Regions from separate parts of the Homo sapiens genome. Here regions 2, 3, 4, 5, 6 and 7 are each linked to region 1. Evidence: promoter capture Hi-C in 16 types of primary human blood cells and fetal thymus (Javierre and others, 2016). All regions are on one chromosome and are shown on one strand. The core of a region is centred on a gene start or on the middle of the fragment in contact, and the rest is flanking DNA. Distances in the headings are between cores, read along the strand shown. Region 1 holds the start of H3C12 (H3 clustered histone 12). Region 2 overlaps LOC285819 (a long non-coding RNA gene). Region 3 holds the start of HCG11 (HLA complex group 11). Region 4 holds the start of TRR-TCG4-1 (tRNA-Arg (anticodon TCG) 4-1). Region 5 holds the start of TRS-AGA2-1 (tRNA-Ser (anticodon AGA) 2-1). Region 6 holds the start of HMGN4 (high mobility group nucleosomal binding domain 4). Region 7 holds the start of BTN3A2 (butyrophilin subfamily 3 member A2).

Region 1 (4,163 bases), core at 203-2,702:
AGATCGAGACCACCCAGGCAAACATGGTGAAACCCTGTCCCTACTAAAAACACAAAAATTAGCCGGGCGTGGTGGCGAGCGCTACTAAGGAGACAGGCAGGAGAATCGCTTGAACCCAGGAGGCAGAGGTTGCAGTGAGCCGAGATCACGCCACTGCACTCCAGCCTGGGCGACAGAGCGAGACTCCATCTAAAAAAAAGAAAGAAAAAAAATACCAGGCGCGAGGCCCTCGCCTGTATTTGGCGGACTGACAGCAGAAGGAACACTTGAGTCCCAGGAATTTGAGATTTCAGTGAGCCATGACCTCGCCACTGCACTCCAGCCTGGGTGACAAAGCGAGACCCCGTCTCAAAAAAAGAAAAACAAAACCCAAACAAAAGTATTTCTGGTGATCATTTGCTCCTGTGAATATAATAAATGTTAAACTAACCTTTTTGTTGTCTTTATGGGTCTTTATCAATACCAGAACCTGGTAGTTCTTTGATCAACTAAAATCTCCATCCTAATAAAATGCTGTTGTCAGAACTACCCAGATTCACTGGCAAAAATCTAATCACTGACCCAAACCTGTAATTCCGCGCATGCTAATGAAATTAAGCAATAATTTACATAATTAATCCAATCAGCCATTGGATTGCATTAAACTCAGTTAATGAAGAGGTCAGATACCATTTATTGGTATCATTTAGTCAAGCACCTATCAAACTCCTTCCCCACACCACACTGGACAAAACTAAAGTTTTGGTGTTTTAGAGAATGTGCCAGCCTAAGTTTAAATTGTTTTTGTTCTGGGTCTTGGTACAGTCATTAAAAGATTTAATTAAGCAGTTACAAAACGGAACTACTTTTTGGAAATACTAGCAAATACGTTGTTCTACTGTATGTATTTTTACACGATCCGAAATAGGAAAAATGACCCATTGGAAATGAGTTTAAGACTACGACTGACCTACACAAATTCTAGGTCAGATTATCTTTTCATTGGGGGAATCTTAACATGATTGGTTGAAAACAATAAATAAAAGTGGCGCGGAGGACGAGCGCAGTGGCTCACGCCTGTAATCTAAGCACTTTGGAAGTCCGAGGCAGGCGGATAACTTGAGATCAGGAGTTTGAGACCAGCCTGGCCAACATGGTGAAACCCCTTCTCTGCTAAAAAAAAATTAGCCGGGCGTCGTGGCAAGTGCCTGTAGTCCCAGCTACTCCGGAGGCTGAGGCAGAATCGCTTGAACCCGGGAGGCGGAGGTTGCAGTGAGCTGAGATCGCGCCACCACACTCCAGCCTAGGCGACAGAATTAGAAGCCGTCAGGTAAAAAAAAAAAAAAAAAAAAAAAAGTGGCAGGAACCAAATGAAGATAGTATTAACAACCAACCAGGTTTTTCCTACAACAGTTCTGACCAATCAGGATCAGATCATCGTTATAAATTCTGGTAGAAGCCACTGCTCATTCAGCTGCTTGCTTTCAGAGCATAGCTTTCTCAACTATGGCCCGGACGAAGCAGACAGCTCGCAAGTCTACCGGCGGCAAGGCACCGCGGAAGCAGCTGGCCACCAAGGCAGCGCGCAAAAGCGCTCCAGCGACTGGCGGTGTGAAGAAGCCCCACCGCTACAGGCCAGGCACCGTGGCCTTGCGTGAGATCCGCCGTTATCAGAAGTCGACTGAGCTGCTCATCCGCAAACTGCCATTTCAGCGCCTGGTGCGAGAAATCGCGCAGGATTTCAAAACCGACCTTCGTTTCCAGAGCTCGGCGGTGATGGCGCTGCAAGAGGCGTGCGAGGCCTATCTGGTGGGTCTCTTTGAAGACACCAACCTCTGTGCTATTCACGCCAAGCGTGTCACTATTATGCCTAAGGACATCCAGCTTGCGCGTCGTATCCGTGGCGAGCGAGCATAATCCCCTGCTCTATCTTGGGTTTCTTAATTGCTTCCAAGCTTCCAAAGGCTCTTTTCAGAGCCACTTACATTCTCACTGAGGATAGCTGTCACACCATTGGTCGACTGTCTTAAATCAACTTTAAAGCAGGGATAAACTGGCGGAAAGTCGTCAAGGGTTGTTCATTCTGATTCCTTGCAGTGTCCTTTGTCTTCTAAGACGGTCCTTTTCACTTGTCCTCTGTGACCCATCTCACAAGGGTCTCACTTTCTCCGAGGAAAGTCAGCAAATCTATATCCAAGGTCAATCCGCTTCAAGGGGAAAGCCAAAGTCCTTCCTGCACATGCTGTCCTTTGGGGATAGCATCTCCAGAACCCCATAACTAACAATTAGATTACAGGTTAAATGAGATGCCATTTTTAACTGAAACGGGCACTGCCCTTGGGTCCCCTGGAAGCTTGCTGAAAATCACGGACATGAGGCCGGTTGATTTAGCACATAGACACGGGAGACTTCAAAATGAGGACCCACCCACCAATGAGATACAGAAGTTTATATATCACCTTGAGATTATAGAAAGAGTGCAAGCTTGGAACCTGGGAAAACAGATTATAGGAGGGAGAAAGGAAGAGACTTGGCTAGCAAGGGGGGCGGGTCTTGTTATGTAGATGAAAACACATAGCTAGTAGTCCTCAGAAAAAATAGATGGTAAATGTCTCTTGTCAGGGTGGGCGTGGTGGCTCATGCCCTCCACTTTGGGAGGCAGTGGAAGGAGGATTCCCTGAGCCCAGGAGTTTGAGATCAGCCTGGGTAACAGCAAAATCCTGTCTCTACGAAAAACAAATAAAAAGAAAGGTGGGTGTTGCAGCGCACAACTGTAGTTCTAGCTGCTCAGAAGGCTGAGGCAGGAAGATTGCCTGAGCCCACGAGTTCAAGGATGCAGTGAACTATGATTGCACAATTGCACTCCAGCCTGGGTGACAGAGCAAGACAGTCTCTTAAAAAATAAAAATAAAAAAGGATCAGACTCTCAGTTAATCTCTCCTAGATCCAGGAAAGGACTAGAAAGGGAAAGCCTGGCAACAAATGGAAATTTCCCCCACAAAAGACTGATTTGCAGGGCCTCATCGGTCTCCGGGCCCTGAGGCAGCCATTTCAAAATAGGGCAAAGAAATATCTTTTGGGGTAAAATATTTTTATTTCCTTCACTTTACTTTCCTCAAGAGACTGCTTTAAAGGTTAAATGCAGTAATATATTCTAGGGCCTTGGACAGTGCCCCAGAAAACACATTAGGTACACAAAAAATATTTATTGAACCTGATTTTATCTCTGAATCTTAGTTTGGAGTGGCTCTTGTGGGAGACTAAAATATGCCACCCCGAAGTATACTTTGTCATATTTCAAGATGGCTATTCAGAGAAACTGCAGAAATAGGAATAGCTCTGAAAAGCTCTTTTTTGTAAAAGAATTGTATACCTATCAAGGAAATCTACATTAGTAAACAGTGGATGCAAGTACTGGCTTTCTCTGAGGCTCCCTTTCCTGCCTAAAGAGGAATCTAAGACTGACTCAAAGGAGAGAAAACTACTTTGTCACAGGCTGTCAGCTATTCTGCGATTACCTGAGAGACTTTATCTACATAACAAGAAAACCTTTGCCTTTCCTCCCCTGGTGCCTTTGCCCTTCCTCCTTCACCCTCCTACAACATGTGTCACCACCTCCTCCAAACCCCCAGAAGTCTCAAGACCTTTTTTCTTTCTGTAGTCTCAGAATGGCATAAAAACGTCAATTATTTGGCCCTTCTGAGAGAGAAATAATATAGGGTGGTCACAAGAGAATAGAAGATTCCATGCAGTAGTTTCACATGACTAGCAAAAAGGAAACTGTTGAAATAGCTGCACAAACTAGGAGCCAAAGAGACCCTGAAAACCGAAATGTTTGCCAAGCTGGCTAAGTCCTACTTGACCCAACATGGCACTGGATTTGACCTAGCTTTCACCTGGGACCTTATTATACACTTATTAACATACAAATCAGACATCCACCAACACCATGACAGTTCCGAGAACACCCATATTTCATGGAAAAATGGATGGCACCACAGTTCTGAGAAATTGTCACCCTTTTCCAGAAATCTTCATGGATATTCCACCCCTTGGTTAAGGAAACCCATAAAGTTAGAAGCCCCAATCACTCCTGGGCAAGACTGACTCTCTTGAGTAAGCCTGCACTTCCCTTCCTTGAGCATGTATTTTTCACTTTGCAATAAACCTCTGTACTTTTTCTG
Region 2 (3,788 bases), core at 1,204-3,703, 1.4 Mb after region 1:
CCTGCTGTGTCTTCTCTCCAGTGGAGATTTTCAAACCAGGCTGCCATCAGCACCCACTCACCACCCTAAGTTTGGTAAATGATATATAAAGCTTCAAACTGGCCCTACAACTCAAAAGGAGACATAGGAGAAGGGAGGCGTTCATGGGTTGCATATAAATGAGCACAGTTTGAAATCACTACACTAAAAAAAAATCTTTCAACTATAATAATATGTTATTTACTTTCAGCAATGAGTCAGTCAGGAATTTAGCCCAGGAAATCAACAGAAAAATAGACTCCTCCCTCCCCTGAGATGCTGCCTGCACTGGATTCATGTAAATTTAAATATAAATTTAGATTGATGTTCTTTCACCATCCTCCCCCATTATCCTTCTCTCACTTCAATCATAAATGCTCTTCTGTTTGCATCATAAATTTTTCCCCTCAATCCAGTACATTTTTCTTTTTTCCTTGTATTTATTTTATTTTATTTTAATTTTTTAGAGATGAAGTCTCACTATGTTTCCCAGTCTGATCTTGAACTTTTGGGCTCAAGTGATCCTCCCAACTCAGCCTCTCAAAGTGCTGAAATTACAGGCGTGAGCCACTATGCCCTGCTGATCCTGTACATTTTTTGAGTTCATTGTACCAATAGTTCCTCCATTAGCTTGGTTAAACATTCACAAAACAAAACAAAATGCCCCCAAATGTGACAGCTGAGTCCTTGTAGGAAAAAATCCTTAAGTGAAGCTTAGTATCCTGGGGTTCATTGCATATTCATATATACATACTTGGGGACCCATGCACTAAAAAGACAGACTCCTTTTGTTTACAATAATTCAGCCTTTGCTGTTAAGGTGATTAAGGCAAGTAGGTGTGGGTGGAGAGATAGTGACAAAGGAAGTGAACTAGAGGAATAAAGATCAAAAGATGGGAGGAGGTCACTAGGTCACAGTTAAGCAAGGGCAAGCAGGCAGGAACCAGCCCTGTTGCACTGGTGTACTTGGTCACCTGGGCAGGGTGTTGACGGGCTGTTGTGGGGATGTTGGGGACATCTAGAAAATATGGAGTTGAAAATTTACAATATACATATGAATCTTTAAGGCACATCTCTTTTTAGAACCTTTTGGAATATGTTCCTAAACATAACCAGGAGATATTTTAGGAGTCTTTTCGTCTCCTGGCTGGGGGCAGTGGCTCATGCCTGTAATCACAGCACTTTGGGAGGCCAAGGTGGGTGGATCACTTGAGGTCAGGAGTTCAGTACCAGCCTGGCCGGCCAGCCTGGCCAACATGGTGAAACCCCGTCTCTATTAAAAATACAAAAAATTTGCCAGGTGTGGTGGCGTATGCCTGTATTCCCAGCTACTCCGGAGGCTGAGGCCAGAGAATTGCTTGGCTGGGAAGGTGGATGCTGCAGTGAGCCGAGATTGTGTCACTGCACTCCAGCCTGGGCAACAGTGAGACTCTGACAAAAAAAAAAAAAAGGAGTCTTTGCTCCTTTCTGACTGTAATTAGTTCCTAAGAACATGCAGTTGGAAGGTTTCTCTATTCAGGTTGTCCCTCTTCAGCCAAATCTCAGCCTCTTCAGGTCCTTACTCTTTGCATTCTACCCTCTCCATCCTCACCCCTTTCTCTGTGCCAGTTCCCCTCTCAGCTTTTCAGTCCCTTTTCTTCCAGGCCTTGTAGCCCTGGCTCTAAGCAATTTTCCCCACTTACTCCTTAATATTCCTATCTGAAAATCATAGCCCACAAAAAAAGGTAATCAATAGTTTTCTGTTGTTAATAAAAACTTTAGACAAATTAAATTTAGCAGGGTTTAATTTGAACAAAGAACAATTTGCAAACCATCAGAACGATCGGGCAGCCATCAGAGAGGTTCAGTGAGCTCCATTCCACAAGGGAAGTGACACACAGAAACAGCTTAATTGGTTACAGCTCAGAGTTGGCCTTATTTGAACATAGTCTGATCACTTGGCTGCAGGGTTGACTGCCGCCGACTGAAGTTCGGCTACTGGGATTGGCTGAGACTCAGCTATTTGTTACAAAAGTATACTCCCATGCCTTAAGCTTTCAGTTAGTTTACATACTAAGTTAGGTTGCAGTTCATTATTTAAGGGCTCAAGAGCCATCCCTCAGGCTAAATGTATACATATCTCATACCAAATTTAGTTTAATTTAACACAATTATTTCTGCTTTAGTTAAGATTCTCTGATCCAGAATAAAGGAAAAGAAAGCATGTGCTGTACACTCGGTCCGAGAAACACTAAGAGAATCCTCTTTGTAGGAATTCGTGTTTTGATTGGCTCAGAGGTACCATTTCTCATCAGTTGCTGGGCAGAAGCCACTGGGGACGGTTAGAATGAAAACTGAAACGATATTGAATTGTACACATTGACGAAAAGTTTCAGCCCTACCTCTCAAAGTGTTTGCAGCTCTCTGTGTTTACATATTTGAATCATTAATGTGTGTGTTACGTGTACAATCAGTGTTTCTTCACATTCAGCTGTCTTTTATATCATAACAGAAATATCAGGAGAACTGAGTGGAAAAATGAAAAGATTTTAAGAAGAGAAGATAGGTATTAATTAAAATGATACTGTGGCAGTTTGCAGACATCCCCTTGCATGTAATTGTTACATGGAGGATATTATCATCTTTTGTTTTGGATATTATCATCTTTTACCACAGAGCCAAATGAAAGTATGAACATAATGAAAACTAGATCTATTGCATCTATTTTAGTACCTCCAAAATTCAGGTCTCAGATCCATTACCGAATTATAGAATTTTCTGGTATCCAGAGTTAGTGCTGTCTATAACTGCATATTTTATATTTTTCACAAAATTATTTTGGGTGTGACTGAAGCTTTCTTCACCTCTTGCTCCTTATTTGTGCCATACTGTATTTTCATGTGTATTTGTTTCTCACTCTGACAATGAAATATGTTCTAAGGTTAACCTTTGGGTAGACTGTGGGGGATGTCTTTGTAAGGGGTCCTTGCTACAAACCTTGGGACCTAGTGATAGCAGACAGGAGGCAGTCAGATGCCTAGGCAGGTAGCAATGGGTCCCCAGTGATACCCCACCTCCAAGCTGAAGACAGTTTAAAGCCTGAAAGCCAAACTACAAGGTAAATCCTCAGCCCAAATTGAGAACTTGTTGAGAACTTGTCTTCCTGTTTGGTGCACTTTCCTCTGATTGGTCCCCACCCTTCAACTACTTTCCATATACCCACACTTTCCTAATTGTTTTTTTACACTGTTGTGGCCATCTTTGAGTGGTGTCTTCACTTTAACCTTTTTTGCATACTCACAAACCATTCAGCACACACTTCCCATTCTGAGTCCATAAAACAGGCCTGGACCCAGCCACACAGGGGGAGCTTTCCTGCCTTCAGGTAGGGGTGCCAGCATCCCCTCTCTGCTGAGAGCTGTTCAGTCGCTTGATAAAATTCTTCTCAGCCCTCCTCACCCTTCAACGTCTAGTGTATCCTCATTCTTCTTGGGCATGGTACAAGAGCTCAGGAACTGCTGAACGTGGGTATAAGCTATAACACAGGTGAGCTGGGGCATGCCAGTTTAGCCAAGCGAGGCTTGGGTGGGGTGTTGCTGGCCAGAGGTCCCCTGCTTGCAAAGTGACAAATAAAAATCCTGTATCACTAGCACTTGCAACTTTAGTTGGGTCACAAATAAAATATAAAGGCCTATCATTTGTTTATGTTATAAAACAGACCCTTAAAGTAATTAAAACTCCTAGGACTTAGCTGAAACCTTGGCTGGTAGAAAATGATACTACAACAGTTT
Region 3 (4,210 bases), core at 1,602-4,101, 1.4 Mb after region 1:
CCTGGTGGATATAAGCACATGTGTCACTTCGAGCTGATGTTATCATTTCACTTCCAAAAAGTCCTTTTCAGAAGACAGCCTCTCTATGAATTTTAACAAAGTGTACAAAATGCGTTAGTTTACTAACTACTTTTGTCATACACTGGCAACCTCTTTAATAGCTACAGACTAGATATTATAAAATCAGGACTCATTTGTCCAGTATATACACAATATATACAGTATAGCAAAGTTAAATGAAATGCTTGTAACATATAGGCAATGGATTAAGCTGAAATTTTCTAATAAACAATGGCAAAACACCTTTTGCAATTTTTTCCCTCCCACCTCCCAGGTGGTTCAACAAATCCACTTCCAAACAGCATTTCCCATCAGTTTTTAAAAGCTATTTACAAAAAGTGTTATTCTACTACTACTACTTTAAAATACATCAAGCACTTCCAAATATCTAAAGACTAGATATTTCATAGCCTGTCCACCATGTACACGGCACTGTTAAATAAAACTGCACACACATAACAATGGTTATCATCTAAGGTATCTTCTAAATGTGACCATTTTGGCCTTGAATCATTCCCTCTTCTCTTCCTTCTCTGCCTTCAATTCAGTGGACAAGTACACGCATGTGTAATGCTTAGAGATGGCTGAACAAATTCCTATGCAAAAGTCAATTACAGAAGACAAGTTTTCCTATGAATTTCAACACAAAGCATACAAAATATGCTAATTTTACTACTTTGTCATACACTGGCAACCTCTAGATGTTAAAAAATTAAGACTATTTGTCCATTATATACACTATATACAGAGCAAAACAAAATGCACAAAACATACAGAAAAATGGTGTCTGAAAATGTCCAAGTATGAACACACTAGCATATTATCTTTTGCAATTTCTTCCCTCCCACCTCCTCTAAACCATTGAGCAAGTATAGACAGTAATATACTGCTCACAAAGGTGGCTTCACAATTCAACTTCCAAAAGTATTTCCTATGAATTTTAGCAAAAAGATATTTACAAATTGGTATTTTACTACCTCTACATTTAATATACATCGGGCACTTCTAAACATCTAGATAGTCTAAATGTTTCAAGTAAGGAGTTAATTTGTCCACTATGTATGTACACAGCAGTCTCGAATAAACTGCAAACATGTAACAACAGTTATAATTTGAAAGAGTCTTCCAAATGTGAACATTCTGGCCTAGAACCCTTCCCATCTCCATCAACCCAGTGGGCAAGAATGCTCAAATTTTCAGAAGACAGTCTTTCCTAGGACTTGTAAAACAAAATGTACAAAATATATTAGTTTACTAACTCTAGTTTTGTTATACACTGGCAACCTCTTTAACATCCAGAAAGACTAGATGTTGTAAATTAGGACTCGTTTGTCCTTTATGTACATTATATACATAGATAAAACAAAATGCACAGACATAGTGATTCATCTTGCCTCGCTGTAAGCAGGATGGCATAGAGCTCTCTGCACCTCCCCCTCCTCTCTCCTCCCCTGAACTACTGCACAAACACAATGAGTATTACTCAACAGGTGATTTGGCCATTCCCCCCAAAAAACAACATTTCTATGAATTGTAACAAAAAGATATTTACAAAATGTGGTTTTACTACCTCTAATTTTAACATATATCAGACACTTCAGAATATCTAAAAAGAATAGACATTTCAAAAAAGCTTAGCATTGTCAACTACATACATAGTAGTGAGGAAGCGAATGCACACAAAACAATGGATAGAATATGAAAATGTCTTCTAAATATGACCAGTCTAGCATAGAACCTTCTTTTTTTCCTTCTCAGGTCTTCGAGCTCCATGTCATCTAACCCACTGAACAAACGTGAACGTATCGCTTCTAGAGGCCGTCTAACAACTCAGTTTCCAAAAGTCAACTCCGGAAGACATGTATTTTCTATGATTTCTTTTAAACAAATGAGAATTTACAAGATGTGTGACTTTCTAACTCTATCATACGTCGGCAACCTCTTTCCATCTAGAAGGGCTAGATGTGACAAATGTTTTCTATTAAAAGGTTGGGGTGGAGTTGAGAGCAGCTTTTTCATATTATATACACAGGCCTTCCGTAAACGGCCTGTGAATCTTCCCAGAGGATGGAGGGCATTTCCAACGGGCCAAACGTGGCCTGTCATTCTACCATTTGTCTCTTCCGACAGCAAGGTCTGGTAGTACGGAGACCAACCGCCCGATCGCCGCTAACCGTTCCACCCGTCGTCGTTCGGGACTTCGCTCACCTCCCAGGCCCGTTAAGGCCTTTGTCCGTTGTCGTTAGGACTAGGTAGGTCTCGCCCAATGGCGACAGAGTGGTCACCCGGGACCCAGATCTGGCGGCTCCGTGGCCTGAAGAGGCGGCCGAGCCTGCCTGCGTCCCTAGGCCGCCTTCCCGGGCCCTCCATGCCCTAACGCCCTCCGCCGCGCGGCGTTCGAGCGGCCGCCATGCTTCCCGGCACGCTACTCCCGCCGCCACCCAAAGGCGCTGCGTCCAGGCTGCTCGGCGGGGGTTTCGTCCAGGCCCGGCAGGCTTGGGCCGGGAGACCCGACGGCCGGCAGGGTCCGGACTGGGAGAGGCCGCCGCCGCCATCAGTCACCGAGGTAGGGTAGGGAAGAGACGTTCGCCACCGCTTCAAGGCCTGGGCCCAGCCAGTGGGCAGCCACAGCAGAGGCCTCCGGTATCTGCAGGGCAGAGGGCGCGGCCTGTCCCGGGGCGCCCCCTAGCTCACCCGCCGACCCGGGGCCGGAGGGCCTGGAGCGCCCTGGAGGAGCGGCCCGCGCTCTGCGTCTCTCCGCGCTCTCTGCCAGACCGGAACTCTTGCAGTGATTTCTTACGGGGAGTAAGGATGAGGTGGGGAATGAGACTGAAGAAATGGAATTAAAAAGATAACTATAACTAAATAAAGAGGAGCCCTGCAGTAATGTAATGAGCCATGAACTGAAGAGTAACATTTATTCAACTCTGCCTGTGAAGGAGGGAGAGGGAAAGACAACTAGAGACAGAGGAGAAACGGAAAAAGGAGGTGAGATTTCAAAACACCGGTAGGTTCTGAAATTATTTTCGGAGTACAGAGTACTTTTTGCTGTCCTTGGAGTGGCTAATAAAAACAAAGAGTGCTTTTATTCCGGAACTCGGAAAATTTATTTTTTAAAAAGAGAGAAGACCATGTCACAAAGAGCAGGTAGGAAAACGTAGCGTAAACTTAAACTCGATTTGTGTCTAAATACTAAAAGTACGAACTGTCAGGAGTGGGATTCGAACCCACGCCTCCAGGGGAGACTGCGACCTGAACGCAGCGCCTTAGACCGCTCGGCCATCCTGACGCGCTTATGCTACATTGTGCTCAGGACTCACTTCTGTCTCTTGTCTAAACGCTATTAGTTCCCCATCCACCAGCCGCCCCCCTACCCCATGTCCCCACCCCCGCCCACCCCCTTGTTGTTCTTTTTCTCAAGATATGGGCATTCCTGGGTTAAAAGGTAAGCCGCCTCTCCGCGAACTGCCTCGGACGGCGCTGCATAGGACCGGTTGTCCGGGCCACAGAGCGGCGTCTCCCGAGTGAACGCCGAGTCACTCCCAGGCTGCGCGGGGAGGGCTGCGGCGGGTGGGGCGGCGGGCGAGGGAGGGCGGGTCGGGGTAGGGGGAGCGGGACGGGGGCGGGGGCGTGGGAGGGGCGGGGCGGGCGTGGGAGGGGCGGGGAGGGGGCGGGGCGGGCGTGAGCCAGCCCAGGGCCGAGTGACTAAGGCGGAAGACGGCGATGGCGCTCTGCTCTCAACTGAATTCTAGTTAAAATAATGGCAATCCTGTTGAACTCAACATTACTAGAATACCTGGCTTAAATTTACACTTAATTCCCAGGAAGTTTTAGGCTTGCTCCAGTTTTTGCTGGAACAAGGTGCTCGCTAATCCTTCTCCTTTGCGTTGTGCTGCAAATCTCCCAGCACGTGGTTACCCTTGGCAGGGCCGGTGGAGGGGACAGGAGCGTGGGAAGCCTGGCTTGTCTTGCCTCTCTGTCGGAGTTTATGGAGGATTTGCGCACTTTTCGGTGTGGATGTTATACTGTAATAAAAACTTTAAAAAGCAAAAGCAAAAACAGCAACAACAAAAATGGGGAGTAGCTTATGTATTTTACTAAACCTGGCGCAGCGGGTACTTGATAGAAGGCCTTGAGCACAACAACTTTT
Region 4 (4,256 bases), core at 1,679-4,178, 1.6 Mb after region 1:
TGACCTTCAACTGACACACACAGATGCTTATTGTATGTTTTTAAGCATTTGTGTGTGTGTGTGTGTGTGTGTGTGTGTTTTAATGGAGCAATAGCTGACTGAAACACATAGTCTTTGCTCCTTGCAAGTCATAATAAAAATCTTTATGGTTTTGGCTGGGCATGGTGGCTCACATCTGTAACCCAGTACTTTGGGAATTGAGGCAGGAGGATTGCTTGAGGCCAAGAGTTCAAGATAAGCCTGAGCAACATAGCGAGACCCTGTCTCTACAAAAAATAAATCAGCTAGATGTGGTGGCACACACCTGTAGTTCTAGTTACTTGGGAGGCTGAGGCAGGAGGATTGGTGGTTGAGGCTGCAGTGAGCCATGATTACACCACTGCATTCCAGCCTGGGTGACAAAGTGAGACCCTATGTCTTAAAAATATATAATATAATCTTTATGTTTTTGAACTGTAGTGGAGGCAAAATTTTACCTCTATTCTTACTACAATTTCTCCAGCTGAACCTGAGAATTAAATTGATGTAAGGCAGATTAATACAAAAAGACCATACAAATTCATTTAATAGTTTTCTGTGGCACAAGAGGCTTCATTGGAAAATGAAGATACTACAGTGCAGTGAGAGTGGAACACTTACATGCTGAATTAGACAGAAAGTGGTAAACTATGTAAATGTAACAAGGCAAAGGGGCTTGGGCTTGGGTAGTTACTTGGGTAGAGAAGTGGCTGAGAGGATAAATTCTCATTTAACAAGATTTGTTTACACAGATTTCCCTCAGCCTCAGTTACCTTAGAAACTAGAATGAATGATACTGTCATTCTAGTTTAGGGAGGACTTATTTCACAGAGGAATTTAATATTCTGCTTTTAAGAAACAGAATGAGAGTCAGAGTGATATTCTTGCATCTGCTATTTTTCAAGTGCCTTTAACTCAAAATAGTCACTATGCCAGAGGGGCATAGTTTTTAACTCCTTCAGAATATATCTCTTCTAATATAAAGTATAATTTACTTATATAATCTACTTATTCATTTTGTGTTTTCTGTGTTGTCTCCTCCTCTCTTCCTTCAACTCCAAACCTCTTGAGGACATGGGTTTTTGTGTACTTTTGTTACTGTGTTCCTAGATTGCTAGATCCTATATTCTAGAATCCCAGTACCTAGCACAGTGGCTGGGGAGAGAAGCAGGCACAGGGTAGGTGCTCCATAAACATTTACAGTAGTCCCCTTTCTATCTGAGGTTTCACTTTGTGTGGTTTCAGTTACCCATAGTCAACTGAGGTCTGAAAATAGGTGAGTAATGTACAATAAAGTATTTTGAGAGACAGAGAGATCACATTCATATAACTTTTATTACTGTATGTAGATTGTTATAATTGTTTTATTAGTTATTGTTGTTAATCTCTTAAAATGCCTAATTTATAAATTAAACTTTATCATATGTGTGTATGTATAGGAAAAAACATGGTGTATATAGAGTTCAGCACTATCCAAGGTTTCAGGCATCCACTGGGGTCTTGGAACATAACTCCTGTAAATAAGGGGGGCTACTCTATTAAATTCATGAATCTCTTAATCCCCTGTGCAACTGGACCCAACTCCCAGTGTTTGTGATACACATCTAGAAATCTTTCTTCTTGATTTATTTTCTTCCAGTTGCTTTTTTTTAATCCAGCTCCAAAAGATGTTTTTCATGTTATTTATTTATTTATTTTCTGAATCCCACTCTCAAAGCAGAAAGGCTTACACATTCATCAAAGGGTGCATATATTTTTATTTGGTGGATTTGGGACAAGTTCCTAAATCACGGTGACCATTTAAGACTCAGGATGTCCACAGATTTCCCTATCTTTTTCAGTTTTCTCCCTTTTGGCACTTCCCAGTCTGGAAAGTCTCTCTCCTCCTTTTGGCATTCTTTGCTATCAGTGCAGTAGAGAAAGAAAGAAAAAGAAGAGAGAAAGGGTTATGACAGGCAAATTTTTATATTCTTGCATCAGAATTTCCACTTTCATTAAATGCTTGAGGGAGGCTGTGGGGCCCCTGGAAAAAGTCTTGTTCATCCTCTGGTACACAGGGTTACATACTGATCAGAGAGAGAGGAGGAAGCTTTTTCCTGTTCTTAGAATCAAGAAAAAAGGTGGGCTATGTAATTCTCAAGTATCACTGTATTCATTTTAAAAGGTTACTCTTCTTTTGAGGTTATATCCTTTTTCTAGTTTATAAAAGGATGCTCAGTGCAAATGGTGGGTTTTGCCATTAACAAGGCAGAACATGGTTTTGCATGACATTAGGACATTGACACTTTCTAATCCAATAAATTTCAAAGTCTGGAAACCAATGCTCAATCCCCACATTTTTTATACAACTTGGAATCTACAGATGACTAGAGGAAACCAGAATCAAACAGAGCTATGGAAGAAGCTGGGGACAGGGAGAGGTAATTATTACTAATTTTAATATTCTTTGCTTTGATCTAGAAACACACTTATGGACTCCATGTGATTTGAATCAATGATCTCATCTGGATGGAGTCAAATGTCTTATGTTTCATCATGATGTCAGCAATTGGAAATTACTTTTCCTTAATCCTAAATTATTATTAAATTCAGGCACACAAAATGTTATTTAGGAATACAAAATGTTTTTTATATATTTTGCACAGCTGTGTTCCCTGTCTTTTCCTGTTTGCACACACACACTGTAACCAGTTGGACTATTTTAATTACCTTTATATTTTTGCTTTGCAATATAAAATTCAATATTAGGTATTCTCATCCTTTTGATGGCAACACACCCACAACAAAAAAGTTAAAATGGAGAGTAAGAACTAGTAACATAGGCTTCAGCAGCTGCCAAAACTCCTTGGTACACGCGGATGTAGACTAAAAAAGAAATGTGAAGAGTTTTTGGCCTAGTGCTAAATCAGAAGAAGCAACAGGTTTCCTACTGTGCTAGCCACTGGGGCCTGGCATTAGTCTGAGACGCTACAGTTTGAGACAGCTTGGCTTATAGATCTGAATTTCTTTTTTTCAAGGAATTGAATCCTTGAATTGAATCTAAGCCTACAAAACCGAAACGCAGGTGCTTAAAATCCAAACTTGGGGAGAACCTGACAGCTCCAAAGTAGTAGATGGCTGTATTTCAGTTTTGACTTTCCAGTCTTTCTTCACTCTGTCACTTGTTCTCCTAAGGCCTTTGAGAATGTCTCCTTCTTCCCTTTAAAGGAGAGGAGATGGAAGAAAAAAAGGATTCAGAAAACCCAGAGAGTGTATGATTTATTTTTTTCTTGGAATGAAATGGGTAATAAAATTTTCATGCCCGAAAACGAACCCCACTTAACCACGAAGGGATTCGAACCCTCAATCTTCTGATCCGAAGTCAGACGCCTTATCCATTAGGCCACGTGGTCCCCCGCAGTTCCGTTGTTGCTGCAATACTTAGAAAATAAAACGAGCTTCCCCCCACCCGCCCCCTCCAACCCCCCGTGTTGGCATCTACAGCGCCCGTGTTTTCGCCAATGAGAAAATGAAAACTTTAGATTAGGTGGGATATTTGGGGCCACAGAATCGGGATTTATAAACGGTTGGTATCGACAATTATTTTAGTCTTGTGGTAATATAACTACTCCTTGGAGAGAAAAGTCGTTTGTTCTGACTCCCAAGGCAGAAGAAGCGGAGTTTATGGCATCTAAAAGATGCTAAAATTCTGCATATTGTCTGCATCGAAGGATATGTTAAAATAAGCTTACTCAAGGTTTCTTCCCTATGATGCTCATCCACATTCACCATTTACAGACTAGGTTCTTGCAGGGTCTGCCCAGATAGTTGTTAAGAAAACTGTACCTGGAAGGCAGTTTTACCACAAGGCAACATCTGTACCGTGGTCTTTCTCGCCATCCTGCATGGATATCTGCAGACCCCGGAGACAATTACCCCCTCTCCATGCTGTTCTGGTACTTTCTCTGATTGTGATAATGTGATATCAGAGCACTTTTCGTGGTATGGTTCTGTTTAGAAAGGAAAGAAAATACTTTCCTTGGGGTTTCTCAGGAGTGCCGAGCGGACTAGAGCCATTACCAGTTTTTGAGGTTCCCATATATTAAGAAGTGAAGGAACACGAAATAGAAATGCAAAAATTTTTATTATTAACAATTTTTACATTTAATAGATGAATCAACACGAAAATGTAATGCATTAGCATCATACTATGGAGAAGATATTTATAGAATTTATAATGTTCCGTAGCGCTCTTGGCC
Region 5 (4,112 bases), core at 1,069-3,568, 1.6 Mb after region 1:
AACTTCAAAAGTTATTTCAGCTATTCCTTCCGAGTTTTATTAGTAGGACATGAACTCACCTAGTATTATTAAATCCCTAGTAAAATGAGAGGTACCATATGTGACATATAGTAACATGTCCAGATTTGAGCAGGCTGTAGGTGACACTTTTTTTCCTGTTCTTATTTTTCTGTTTACTCAAACTAATACAGATGCATAAGGAGACATGTTTAAAGTAGGATGAAATCTACAGACTGTGCAAAGCTTTTGAACTTTTGGAGAAATGTTTAGACAACTGACGAAATGCTTGGGGTTGAATTAATGAAAAGTGTCTAGAAGCTTAAGCAGTAAAACAACAAGAAAAGACAGTTATGTACTAATGCCGGGGAAAAATAAAAATTGCAAGGAAAGGAAAACTTAACAATGTATTTCTTTGCCCACTTGTTGAATTATGTTTATAAAGTTGTCATATTTTAAGCTACAAATATTAAAGTATCATGTATTGTGCTATAACCATATGAGAAGACTTAGAAAGGGAGCATGTGTGTGTCGGGGGTCCTGGGGTGTGAAGAAGAAAGTGAACCAGTTACTCCTCTTATATAAAGTCAACAGAAGGTCCATACAAACATATTATTTAGAGATATGTAGGTAAATAATTTTAAAATAAGCTATTTAAATGTTTAAAAAGTAGGCTTAACCACTCAGCCACGACTATAGGTGCCAAAAGTTTTCTTAAACGTCGTACATGTTATTATATGTCACATATTGTACCTCTCGCTTTACCAGGAATTTAATAGCTGAGTTCACGTCCTGCCAACAAAACTTAGAAGGAATCAACAAACTTCAAGTTCAGGCGCATATGTGGTAAGCTGAGAATGTTCTTTGGGTGTTTTCTATAATGCAAATCAGGAATATGTTTCAATAACTTTAAAAATTGCTAGAGGACAGGGAGCAGAGAAGAGACTTGATTTTTGTTTCAAGTGATTCTTGAAATTATGAGTATGCGAAAAGGATAGAAAAGAAACCAAAATTGTTTGCTATCTAGAAATTTTCTGTTTGTGAATTCTCAATCGTAACTCTCACAGAATGACACAAGGTTTTCCCAAACGGACGTGGTGGCTCACGCCTGTAATCTAGCACTTTGGGAGGGCGAGGCGGGCTGATCACTTGAGATCAGGAGTTCCAGACCAGCCTGGCCAACATGGCGAAACCTCCTCTCTATTAAAAATACAAAAATAATTAGCTGGGTGTCGTGGCACATGCCTGTAATCCCAGCTACTCTGGAGGCTGAGGCTAGGAGAATCGCTTGAACTCAGGAAGCAGAGGTTGCGGTGAGCTGAGATCGCGCCACTGCTCTGCAGCCTGGGCGACACAGTGATACATCTCAAAAAAAGAAAAAAAAATTCCCCTGTATTAAGTTTTATCAAGCAATGTGAAAATTGGTCAGTTCTGAAACTTATCAATTTAGTGATGTGATTTAAAAAAAAAAAACTCTTATGTATGTAAAACAATAGTGAACTGAAGCTGGAGTCTATATTATAAAAATTTTTGTCATCTTGTGTAATTCTTTTAAAAATTAAAATGATAAAATACATAAAATGTATATGAGTGCCCAGGGAAGGGGCATTTATGTAAACCTCAAAGTTTCCACTAAAGTCGAACGAGCCAGCCAGGAGTCGAACCTGGAATCTTCTGATCCGTAGTCAGACGCGTTATCCATTGCGCCACTGGCCCTCTGACGAACGAAGACAGGCGTTATACCTATAGAAAAAAACGTTTTGGGATTACCGCGTCCTCCTATACATGAATATATGAAATTTTATTTCTTTCTGATCATAAGGATTTTGAACCCAAAACCCTCCAATTAAAACAAAATATAGTTTTATTTGTTCCTTTGACTTGTTTTACTCATGAAGTATGATTCCTTCGTGGGTAATGAGAAATCCATCCTTGTGCACAATGATTCCTTCCTGAACAATGAAATATCCATTATGATGTAACTTGTAAAAGATCAGAGATAAGGTTTACTTTGGGCAATGAGAAATCCATTTTGAGGACCTCTGAGACATAAATTGAAATTGTCCTGCCCTGAATCCCCAAGAAATCCATTTTGATGTTAACTTGTAAAAGATCGAAAGCCTTTTTACACGTGAAATATCGATCGGTCGGATGAAACCTGCTTGAAGATGCAAAAACCCACTGCCGTAGTCGGCAGGATTCGAACCTGCGCGGGGAGACCCCAATGGATTTCTAGTCCATCGCCTTAACCACTCGGCCACGACTACAGATACCAAAAACCTTATTAAATGTCTTACATGTTTCCATACATCACATATTGTACTCCTTTTATTAGGGATTTAATAATAGCTGAATTCGTATCTTAAGAATAAAACTTGGAAGCAATCAACAAACTTCAAATTCAGGCACATACATGATACGCTAAGAATGTTCTTTGGGTCTTTTTTATAATGCAAATCAGGAATATGTTTCAACAACTTTTACAATTCTCATATTTTTGCCTAGTAAGAAAATTATCCTCAGGCCGGGCGCGGTGGCTCACGCCTGTAATCCCAGCACTTTGGAAGGCCAAGGCGGGTAGATCATGAGGTCAGGAGTTTGAAACTGCCCAACATGGCGAAACCCCGTCTGTACTAAAAATACAAAAAAATTAGCCAAGGTGGTGGTGCACGCCTGTAATCTCAGCTACTCGGGAGACTGAGGCAGGAGAATCGCTTGAACCCAGGAGGCGGAGTTTACAGTGAGCCGAGATCGCGCCATTGCACTCCAGCCAGGGCGACAGAGCAAGACTCCGTCTCGGGGGTAAAAAAAAAATAAAAAATAGATTAAAAAAATAAAAAGAAAGAAAATTATCCTCAGTAAATAACACTGATGTTCCACAGAGATCCCCTATATTTTCTGACAAAGTCCAGTGCCTGCGATATACTAACGGCTCAACAAATGTCAGTACAATTGTAACTATCATTGTAAAACCCCAGAATCTAGATTCATCAAAAGGTTCTTCAGTGAAGATAGGCTTCTGTCTTTTCATAAAACTCAGAATATTTTAACCAGCTGAAAGAACATTTCTGAAAGAAACTAGAAAGTAAAAAATATTTTTGCTGGTCAAATCCTCTTTCGTTTATGGGGCCTTCTCTCACAAGGGGAAGAACAACTGCATCTGATATTCTGTGAATAGTTTGAAATTATATTCAAAGACCACTTCCAAAGGAAGAGCAGAACCCCAGGTTCTAAAACTGCACTACCATTACCACAATACTATGCGTGTGTGTGTGTGTGAGTATTAGTGAGCAAGTCAGGGATTCTGTATTTCATCAATGGCCCAACTCTATGAACAGAAGAAGGGTAAGGAATGATTGATGAACTACTGCTCATGTGCGGATGGATTGAAAATCGTCTCTACTCCAGATCTCTCTCCTCTGGGCTCCAGAATATACAGTTGTCCTATTTTTTTTTCTTGCATGTCCATGGGCATCTCAAAAGCAATGCAACCCCAAAGGAATGTTCCATCATTTTCCTCAAACTTAAATTTCCTCCAACAATCCAAATTTTTGATGAGATACCAAAACCGAAGACTGGCTACCAAGACCGAAGACTACCCTTGTCCTTTTATGTCTCTCTGATTCCCTTCCCAGCAGGCCCTCAATTCAACCTTCTAATTAGCTCTCAAATCTGGCTCTTCTTCCCCAGCCCTCAGACCACCTTTTTTTTTTGTTTTTTTTTGACGGAGCCTCGCTCTGTCATCCAGGCTGGAGTGCAGTGGCACGATCTTGGCTCACTGCAACCTCCGCCTCCCGGGTTCAAGCAATTCTCTTGCCTCAGCCTCCCTAGTAGCTGGGATTACAGGTGCGCGTGCCACCATGCCCAGCTACTCAGACCACTTTTTAAAATGAGGTACTTAGTTTAGGTACTTAGAAGTACTCATGAGAAACTTCTCATTAAGTTATTGCAACAACTTCTTAGTCTTTTGGCCTCCAGTTCCTGATCCCTTAAATAATATATTCATTTATTCATTCTTCCAAAAATTTTATTTTTTTAGAATAAAAATAAGCACTTTGTATATGGGTAGTGAGACAGAGAATTGCCTATTTTTTTCAAATTCTTTTTATGTGAAA
Region 6 (4,120 bases), core at 1,209-3,708, 1.4 Mb after region 1:
TCTAACTTGGGTTTTAGCCTCAATCCCACCCCGAAATCAGAAGGTTCCCCTCTCCCTCCCTGCCTCTTACTTAAGGAGAGATCGTGTTTGGGGGTTGGAGGGAAGATCTGGAAGAAAGTTAAGAACACCAAGCTTAGGAAGGAGAGAATAAAGGATATAATTAAAATACAATAAAAAATGCACAGGCAAATGCTGGGCGTGGTGGCTCACGCCTGTAATCCCAGCACTTTGGGAGGTGGAGGCAGGTGGATCACTTGAGGTCAGGAGTTCAAGACCAGCCTGGCCAACATGGTGAAACCCATTTCTACTAAAAATACAAAAATTAGCTGGGTGTGGTGGCATATGCCTATAGTCCCAACTACTTGGGAAGCTGAGGCAGGAGAATCACTTGAGCCTGGGAGGCGGAGGTTGCAGTGAGCCAAGATTGTGCCACTGCACTCCAGCCTGGGTGACAGAGCAAGACCCGGTCTCAAAAAAAAAAGAAAAAAAAAAAAAGATTCACAGGCAAGATGCAGTGTGCTACAGAAGCAAGAGGTCACATGGTGTCAGTCACTCTCCAGGGCGTTTGTTCTTCATCTTCCAAAGTATTAGAGACGCAGCATGAGTTTCCACGGAGGTTAAGTGAGAGAGACTGGGAGATGCAGGGGTAGAAAGGAAAGATGAGAAAACGCAGGGTGTCTAAAAGGGTAGGTTTGCTGCTGCAGCTTGCCAGAATGCATCTGCTTTAAAGAGAAGGAGTGAGCCATAAGCTCCCAAACAGTCACCCATCTGTAAAGGTTGGTTAGGGGCACACTCACCTTCCAGGCTAAAGTATTCCTGCTAACTGGGATCGGAGAAAGATGAAGAGGATAAATCCTTGTCATCTCCTAGGACCCTGGAACCTTTGCCCCCTTTCTGGGCACCATAATAACTTGCTTATATTTCTGAGTAGTACAGAGGGGATTTTAAATGAAAATGTATTAGACAGGTTGCTGTTGAGCACATGCCCAAGTTTATTGTCTTGCTAACCAAGATATTATCTTGCTAGCCAAGGTGTTGTCTTGTTAAGGGAACCAGCAAGATGACAAAAGAATGGACCTTTCAAGTCAACGTCTACCCAAGCAGCCTGTTTAAGAAAATGATAAAAAGAAAACAGCTCATTAACATTGTCCTTTTCTTTCTTTTCTTTTCTTTTTTTTTTTTTTTTTTTAATTTTGCGGACCCACCAAAGAATGCAGCCCTTCTTTTCTCATGGTCATAAAAATATCACATTCGGTTGGGCGCGGTGGCTCATGCCTGTAATCTCAGCACTTTGGGAGGCCGAGGCGGGCGGATCACTTGAGGTCAGGAGTTTGAGACCAGCCTGGCCAATATGGTGAAACTCCGTCTCCAACTAAAAATACAAAAATTATCCGGGTGTAGTGTTACACACCTGTAGTCCCAGCTGCTCGGGAGCCTGAGGCACAAGAATCGAGGTGGAGGTTGCAGTGAGCGAGATCGCACCATTGCACCCCAGCCTGGACAACAGAGTGAGACTCCGTCTCAAAAACAAACAAACAAAAACAAACACATCACATTCTTATTAGTCATTTGAGGGAACCTGGAGCAATATGATCTGAGAGGCTAGGCTTGGCTAATCCCTAGAAAAAGTAGTAATACATCTAAGAAAGAAATCCCTCTTAGGGAACACCCGAGGCTGCCAGGTGACACAACAAAACTTTCTCATAAAAGCGTTTGATTAATCCGATTAACTTGTAAGCAAGCCATGTGGCAGAGGTAAGAGGCCAAACACCAAGGCACCAGTCCTGATTCTAAACAAGTGCTGGTCCATTTCTTAACTTTGGGATCCATTTTTTCTTTGTGATGGAATAGCAAAAGGTCAAAGTGGAGGAGGACTCAGCCCTTGGGTGTCTCCTCAACGAGGGTTTCTCGAAGGTAAATTGGGGAGGAAGGGAGAGCCCACGGCAGGTCAGTCCAACCTGCCAGTCACCACCTCTTTAAGGCCACAGCCCTGCGGGAGCAATCCTTTCAAATCCCCTTCCTTCCTTCTTTTAGAACGCCCCTAGAACGCCGATTAGGACTTCTCATCCCGGTCGGGCCTGCGGCTCTCTGTGACCCCACCTCTGGATTCAGCTTTTCCCAGGGATTCACACTCGGAGCTCAGGAGAGATGCTGCGATTACTCTGGAGACGGGAAGACAGGCGGGGCTGACGGGGCCCAAGGCCCCTAATCATGACCGGGGCCAGCTGGCAGGAGGGTCCTAAGTATACGGAGGGCGGCGGGACCCCCCCCACCACGCCCCTCATTTTCCGGGGTAGCGCACAAAGTCTGTGAGGCACTTACCCGAGTCTCGTGGCCGTCCGAGGGGCGCGGGAATCCCAGCTGAGGCCCGTGACGCGCCGGAGCCCTAGGCGTGGGCAGGGCCAGCACCAGCCCTAAGACAGAGAAGACGAGCGGAGCCCGGCTCCGCCAGGAACAGGAAGGCGAGGGAAGGTGAGGATGCGCTTCCGGGGCTGCAGGCGGGGAGCCGCCCCGAGTCCAAGCCGGAGAGAGCTGGTTCTCCCCCTGGCGATACGTGTGTGAGCCTCTGAGGCCCGCCCTAAGCACTGCTGCCCCGATCTAGCAAGACAAGAAGACAGGAAATTTATGACAGCCTGAAAAAGTCTTTAAAAGATACACACTGGAAGAATTTCGTAGTAAGATGAGGAAAAAAAAACGTGTTTCCGCCCGGTTTCGAACCGGGGACCTTTCGCGTGTGAGGCGAACGTGATAACCACTACACTACGGAAACCCACTAAGGGCTTATTTTTCAGAGTAAATAGTTCTTCCTGCCTAGTTCCGTGTTTCTTCGTTCCAAGTGCGTGTTTTGCTGATGTGCGCGTGCGTCTCTGTACCGACCTCTCAAACCAGAAAAACCAATGAAAAGCTCAGACCCAGCCCCTCCAGTGTTCAAACTGAAGCCATAGAATTTATTCTACAAATGACTGAATAGGGAAGAACACAATAGAGACTTTAATTTAATCTCTGAACGGTCCTTCGTTCTTCGGCCAAAATGGCCAGGCAAGGCTGGGCACAACTTGGGTAGGGCGAGCGTTTCTCTGGCGTAGTTGGCGTTACCACGTGGTCAGTGGCAGAATGCTCCGCAAAGAAATGATAACCCCATATGTTGTCGGGAGCTGCCCCTCTTGCTTCTGAGTCTTCCAGGCAAATTTATCTTGCAGGAATTTCCTTACTCCTGCGGAGTCAGAAAGTTGTAAAACGACCCTGCTTACACCGAGCCAGCCAGGAGTCGAACCTGGAATCTTCTGATCCGTAGTCAGACGCGTTATCCATTGCGCCACTGGCCCTGCGCGTACCTTAGGGGCGAGGTATTTCATAAGAAACTAGGTTGTACCCGTAATATCTGGGTGAACGCCTGTAAGCCGCGTTTGCCCGCTGGTCCAGGCTCGCAGCGCATGGACTCTCTGGTAGCTACTTCTGCACACGCCCCGTGGCCTTCATTCCTTTCTCGGTCTGTCTCTGCCGGCTGAAAAATGGCGGTGAAAAGCAAGCCCTGCATCCTCTCTGCCCCAATATCACCGCTCCATTAATGCGTTCGTTCATTCAACCAGTATTAGTGTTCAAGGCACTGCAGATAACGGTGAAGAAAACATGAGAGACCCTTGCCCTCAAGATTACATGGCAGTGGCGGAAGCGGATAATAAAGCATTAAATAAACAAAATAATAGTGATAAGCGATTGGAGAAAAATAATAATAAAACAGGGAAAGAGGATAGGAAAGGCCAGCAGTGAAAGTGATGAATGAGGGATAAATGCTGATATCGGGGAAATGAGTGATCTGGAACAGGGAAAAATCGCTAGGGAAAAGGCCTGGAGGTGGAAGCAGGCTTGGGAGTTATGTTGAGGAGGCCGGTGCTCAGTGGAGAGGAATAGGAGATCCTGGGAGACCACCTCCAGCTTTATAGGCCCTTGTAAGGACTCTGGCCAGCTTTACAGGCTCTTGTAAGGACTCTGGCTGGTATTCTGTAGGAAACTGGAAGCCGTTGTACGGTGACGTGGTCTGAGTTTTCATTTGTCTCTCTGTGGGTCTTTTTTTTTTTTTCTTCAAATATTTTACTAAGCGAAACTGTGCTAGGCCTCC
Region 7 (3,885 bases), core at 216-2,715, 1.5 Mb after region 1:
CAGACTAAACATTATATTTCACCACATCTTCTGCTCCTCGAAACTGCTCTTTATTCTCCTAAGGAGAAGGAGGTATTATTAAGCTAAGCTAAAAATTTCTCTGCTGTCCTCAGAGGGAGAACTTTTATTTTTTAGGTTATTTATTATTCATTCTTTCTACTATAGACAATTTTGCCAAAGAAAAAAATATAAAGGAATAAAACCTTAAATACTCTGTAGTTATATACTTTGCTAATGGAAGTGGAAATGTTTCTGGAAGCATTTGGCCATGTACACATGGCAAGTGCCTTTAAAATGTTGTATTATTTGCCCCCAAAATTCCAACTATAAAAGTTAGTGTTGAAGAAAAAAATTTAGAGATTGATGCAAATATTTATGGATAAGGCTGTTCAATCTAGTAAAATCTACAGTAACAAAATGTAGAAACTGAAAAATCCAAAATAAAGAGTTTTAAAAATAATTCGGGTTTTTTATTTGTTTGTTTGTTCTTTTTTCTTCTTTAGGAGCGGCTTTCTGAGTCAGAGTAGGCTCACAGAGACTCCCAATAATTATATATTCATACAATGTAGTAGCTTGTAACCATGGGAAATCATGCTTTAGGTTTTGGGGAAATGATGAATGGAAAGAAAACCAAGTACTATCCCTAAAAGATACCAAAAATGGTTTAATATAAGGATCCAGTGTTATTAAAATTATAAAGAATTTCACTTAATTAAAATTATGATTCCTAATGGTTACATGGAACATGTTTTATGACTGAACCATGCATTGTTTGTCTATTCCCCACCTGTTGAATATGTATGTTGGTTCAGATTTTACTATATTATAAATACTTCTGTAATAAACACATTTACATATAAATCTATGAGGCACATCTCTTTTTTCTTCTTCTTCTTCAGAATTTCTCAGAATAGATGCCTTGAGTTGGCCAGAACAGATTTTAAGGGTTTTTTGTTTGTTTGTTTGTTTGCCCTTTTCTGACCACAATACGTTAAGAACATGCAGTTGGAATATTTCTTCATTCATGTTGTCTCCCTTTCCTTCCACTAAATCCCAACCTCTGCAGTTCCTTATACTTTGCAGTACTTCTCCCGTCTTCCCACGTGCCCATATGTGCATGTGCGAGTGTGCACATGTACACATGTACACACACACACACACACACACACACACACACACACACACACAGGCACTGCACCCCTTTCTCTGGGAGAGTACTCTCCCTGCATGCCCACTCACCACTCTCAGCGATTCAGCCCCGCTCCTCCCATGCGTTGTAGCCCAGGCTCTAATCAATTTCCTGCACTTACCCCTTGGTATTCCCATTGGAGAATCAGAGCCCACAGAATAAAGACGGTCAATCAATAATTCTCCATTCTTTCTATTATGGCTTAGCCTCTCATCCGGAAGAAAGGAAAAAGAGAAAGCAAATATTGTCTTCTCACCATGAGAAACAGTAAGAGTCGCTCTTTGGAAGAATTAGTTTTTTGATTGGCTCAGAGGTGATGTTTCTCATCAGTTGCTGGGCAGAAACCACTGAGGAACGTTGAAATGAAAACTGAAAGTACATTGAATTGTACACGTTGAGGAAAAACTCCAGCCCTACCTCCCTTAGTGTTTGTGTTTCTGTGTTTATCTATTTGAATCATTCTTGTGCGTGGATGTATATAAGTATTTCTTTATATTCACCTGTCTCGTGTCTTTTACATGGTAATAGAAATATTAGCAGAATGGAGTAGGAAAGTAAAAAAATTTAATGTGCAAAGAGAGGAAGATGTGCACTAATTAAGATGCTTCTGTGGCAGTTTGCTTGCATGTAGATAGGTACGTAGAAGAGGAGGATCTTTTTTACAGAGCCTAATAAAGGTATGAATGGAAAGAAAATGAGACAAACTGCACCTCTTTAAGAACTTCTGGCATTTAGGCTTAGGATATGGTATCAAATAATATAATTTTTCTGATTTCCAGAGGCAGTGCTGCTTGACATTGTTTTACCTTTCCCAGGAAATTCTTACTGCAGATCTTTCTGAGCATCTTCATTCACCCTCAGCTCCTGGTTTGTGCTATATTGTATTTTCTTGGGTATTTGTTTCTCACGCTGCCAGTGGAGTACATATTCTCTGAAGCTAGACACTCCATAGGCTGTGGTCTCTGTAAGGCTCGTTTCCTGTACACCATCTCTGTAAGGAGTTTATGGGACAATCTTGTTCTCCCTGTGGCTTACGACCTCAAAACACACTTTTTTGGGCTGCAAGCCAGAAATCTCCTAGAGCTAATATGTGACTGGAGCTGATGGGATTTGATTATATTGCAACAGTTTGAATTTAGGCTGTGTGGTATCTGCTTGAGATGGCTGGTTGCTTCTGCAGCGTGCATGCCCCCTTCTTCTTAGTGACAAGGCCTAATTTTCTGGGGTACTGCATCCTGCTCTTCCCCCTTGAAGATAGGGCAGGCCAAGGGACTAAGTTGGAGCCAGCGGTTTGTAGGTGAAAGTTGTGGGCTTGTACTTCTCCCAGAAATCCTTCAAAGGGAGGCCAAAATAGCTGGGAGTGTGAGGGTACACTCTCCCTTCTTCCTTCTTCCTCTTGCCTAGAACATGGACTTTGGACCCGGAGGTGCAGTAGCCCACCCTGGGACCATGAGGCAGCCTTGAGGTTGGAAGCCACACACTGGGACAGCAGAGAATGAAGTCAGAAGCAGGCTGGGGCATGAATGACATATCTGAGGTGCCAGATCAGCCCTGGACTGTCACCATCTAAATTTATTTAAAAAATTTTTTCTTTTAAAATATTTTATTATATATTAGTACTCAGGGTAAATTTCCAAATAAGTTTGTTTTTCATGAAAGGAAAACAAATCCTTGTTTTATTTAAGCCAGTGGTACTTCTGGTCTCTGTTATCAACAGAAAAACACAATTTTTCCCTCCCCCTTCCCCCTCCCCAACAGTTTATTATAAAACTTCTAAAACATATAGCAAAGGTGAAAGAATTTCAGTAAATTCCAATATATCTACCATGTAGATTGTATAATTAATATTTTAGTTTCTTACTTTATTATAAATCCATCCTGCTGTTCACCCCTATTCATCCATCAATATTTGTTTATTTGTTCATTTGTTTATTTTTAAATTCAGACTCTATCAGAAGCTGTGCTGCTTGAGATCGTATTAGTAAGAATGAACATCCCACCTTTGCCTGGAGGGTCCAAGTCACTTTGACACAAAGAAGCAGCCAATGTGCTAAGCTTCAGATTAGGAGTTTCTGAGCCCAACTCTTCATATCTCTGAACTTTGTAGTTTCCAAACTATGAGACCCCTAAGTTCATTTCTCACTCAATGTCTTTGTTTCTTCAGCTATGGGTAGGGATGTGACCTGCTTCTTAAGTTGTTTGGGGAGAACCTAGCACAGCACCTGCACATATTAACTCTTTATGAATGTCATTATTTTCCATTATGAAAGGTTCGGTATCAGCTGGTGCCTGTTGTGGAGTTGGAGTTTTAGTTTGAAGGTGAAGAGAAAATCTTTTTTAAAAATGGCATGAGAAAATGTGTACATTGGAAACAATAGTGTGAAAGGTGCCAGGGAAGATGGGAAGTAAGAGTGCCATTTACATTGTATTCTGTGGAATGATGACGCTATGATTACACAATATAGCCAGTCCTCATTAGAGAATCAGATGGTAGAAGACAAGGAGACCAGGAAGAAAGCTACTGTGACACTCCAGGCAAGAAATGATGAGGCCTTAGGGATGGAGGAGAGGGAAGAGGATTGATTATTATTCTTAATAATAGCTTATACTCACATAGAACCTACCGTGATGTTGGTATTGTGCTTAGAGGTTTACATGCATGAATAATACTTTTGCTTTGTGAAGTTCTGAGCAGA

What was found. The method cuts DNA at HindIII sites, captures the fragments that hold promoters and counts their contacts. A CHiCAGO score of 5 or more calls a contact.
Region 2: a contact is called between a fragment that was not itself captured here and the fragment with the promoter of H3C12 in region 1, in 2 of 17 cell types (fetal thymus and total CD8 T cells). The highest score is 5.8, in fetal thymus.
Region 3: the fragment with the promoter of HCG11 here is called in contact with the fragment with the promoter of H3C12 in region 1 in 2 of 17 cell types (neutrophils and M0 macrophages); the score reaches 6.0 in neutrophils.
Region 4: a contact is called between a fragment that was not itself captured here and the fragment with the promoter of H3C12 in region 1, in 1 of 17 cell types (activated CD4 T cells). The highest score is 6.2, in activated CD4 T cells.
Region 5: a fragment that was not itself captured here is called in contact with the fragment with the promoter of H3C12 in region 1 in 2 of 17 cell types (total B cells and fetal thymus); the score reaches 7.1 in total B cells.
Region 6: the fragment with the promoter of HMGN4 here is called in contact with the fragment with the promoter of H3C12 in region 1 in 6 of 17 cell types (activated CD4 T cells, M0 macrophages, total CD4 T cells and 3 more); the score reaches 8.7 in activated CD4 T cells.
Region 7: a contact is called between the fragment with the promoter of BTN3A2 here and the fragment with the promoter of H3C12 in region 1, in 5 of 17 cell types (activated CD4 T cells, non-activated CD4 T cells, naive CD8 T cells and 2 more). The highest score is 9.4, in activated CD4 T cells.

The regions. Positions count from the first base shown.
Region 1 is chr6:27,888,115-27,892,277 of GRCh38, reverse strand. It overlaps H3C12 (H3 clustered histone 12), which reads left to right and starts at 1,452. Exons shown (of 1, transcript NM_003535.3): 1 at 1,452-1,963. The coding sequence starts at 1,486. The coding sequence ends at 1,896. RefSeq lists enhancers at 1,480-1,699, 1,216-1,860, 1,920-2,219, 1,861-2,505, 2,506-3,150. The HindIII fragment of the contact is 2,915 bases long and covers 1-1,936 here.
Region 2 is chr6:26,472,438-26,476,225 of GRCh38, reverse strand. It overlaps LOC285819 (a long non-coding RNA gene), which reads left to right. Exons shown (of 4, transcript NR_038992.1): 3 at 1-74. It also overlaps a transcript of BTN2A1 not described here. Among named protein-coding and RNA genes, the nearest start is that of BTN2A1, 16 kb to the right of the region's middle. RefSeq lists an enhancer at 2,342-2,391. The HindIII fragment of the contact is 800 bases long and covers 2,054-2,853 here.
Region 3 is chr6:26,520,347-26,524,556 of GRCh38, reverse strand. HCG11 (HLA complex group 11) reads right to left here and starts at 2,851. Exons shown (of 1, transcript NR_026790.1): 1 at 1-2,851. TRL-CAG1-7 (tRNA-Leu (anticodon CAG) 1-7) reads right to left here and starts at 3,349; the gene lies at 3,267-3,349. LOC107986583 (a long non-coding RNA gene) reads left to right here. Exons shown (of 4, transcript XR_001744057.3): 1 at 1-3,048. RefSeq lists silencers at 2,396-2,915, 3,146-3,745. The HindIII fragment of the contact is 10,867 bases long and covers 1,696-4,210 here.
Region 4 is chr6:26,298,831-26,303,086 of GRCh38, reverse strand. TRR-TCG4-1 (tRNA-Arg (anticodon TCG) 4-1) reads right to left here and starts at 3,410; the gene lies at 3,338-3,410. It overlaps LOC124901287 (a long non-coding RNA gene), which reads right to left. Exons shown (of 2, transcript XR_007059520.1): 2 at 4,123-4,256. The HindIII fragment of the contact is 1,637 bases long and covers 2,110-3,746 here.
Region 5 is chr6:26,325,741-26,329,852 of GRCh38, reverse strand. It overlaps TRS-AGA2-1 (tRNA-Ser (anticodon AGA) 2-1), which reads right to left and starts at 2,264; the gene lies at 2,183-2,264. TRR-ACG1-1 (tRNA-Arg (anticodon ACG) 1-1) reads right to left here and starts at 1,713; the gene lies at 1,641-1,713. It overlaps LOC101928743 (a long non-coding RNA gene), which reads left to right. Exons shown (of 3, transcript XR_241992.5): 2 at 766-843. The HindIII fragment of the contact is 3,995 bases long and covers 321-4,112 here.
Region 6 is chr6:26,536,704-26,540,823 of GRCh38, reverse strand. HMGN4 (high mobility group nucleosomal binding domain 4) reads right to left here and starts at 2,458. Exons shown (of 2, transcript NM_006353.3): 1 at 2,323-2,458. It overlaps TRR-ACG1-2 (tRNA-Arg (anticodon ACG) 1-2), which reads right to left and starts at 3,326; the gene lies at 3,254-3,326. It overlaps TRV-CAC1-6 (tRNA-Val (anticodon CAC) 1-6), which reads right to left and starts at 2,770; the gene lies at 2,698-2,770. RefSeq lists enhancers at 1,838-2,247, 3,508-4,120 and silencers at 2,738-2,787, 3,181-3,474. The HindIII fragment of the contact is 7,010 bases long and covers 135-4,120 here.
Region 7 is chr6:26,362,778-26,366,662 of GRCh38, reverse strand. BTN3A2 (butyrophilin subfamily 3 member A2) reads right to left here and starts at 1,465. Exons shown (of 11, transcript NM_007047.5): 1 at 1,311-1,465. RefSeq lists an enhancer at 1,458-1,507. The HindIII fragment of the contact is 4,055 bases long and covers 1-3,246 here.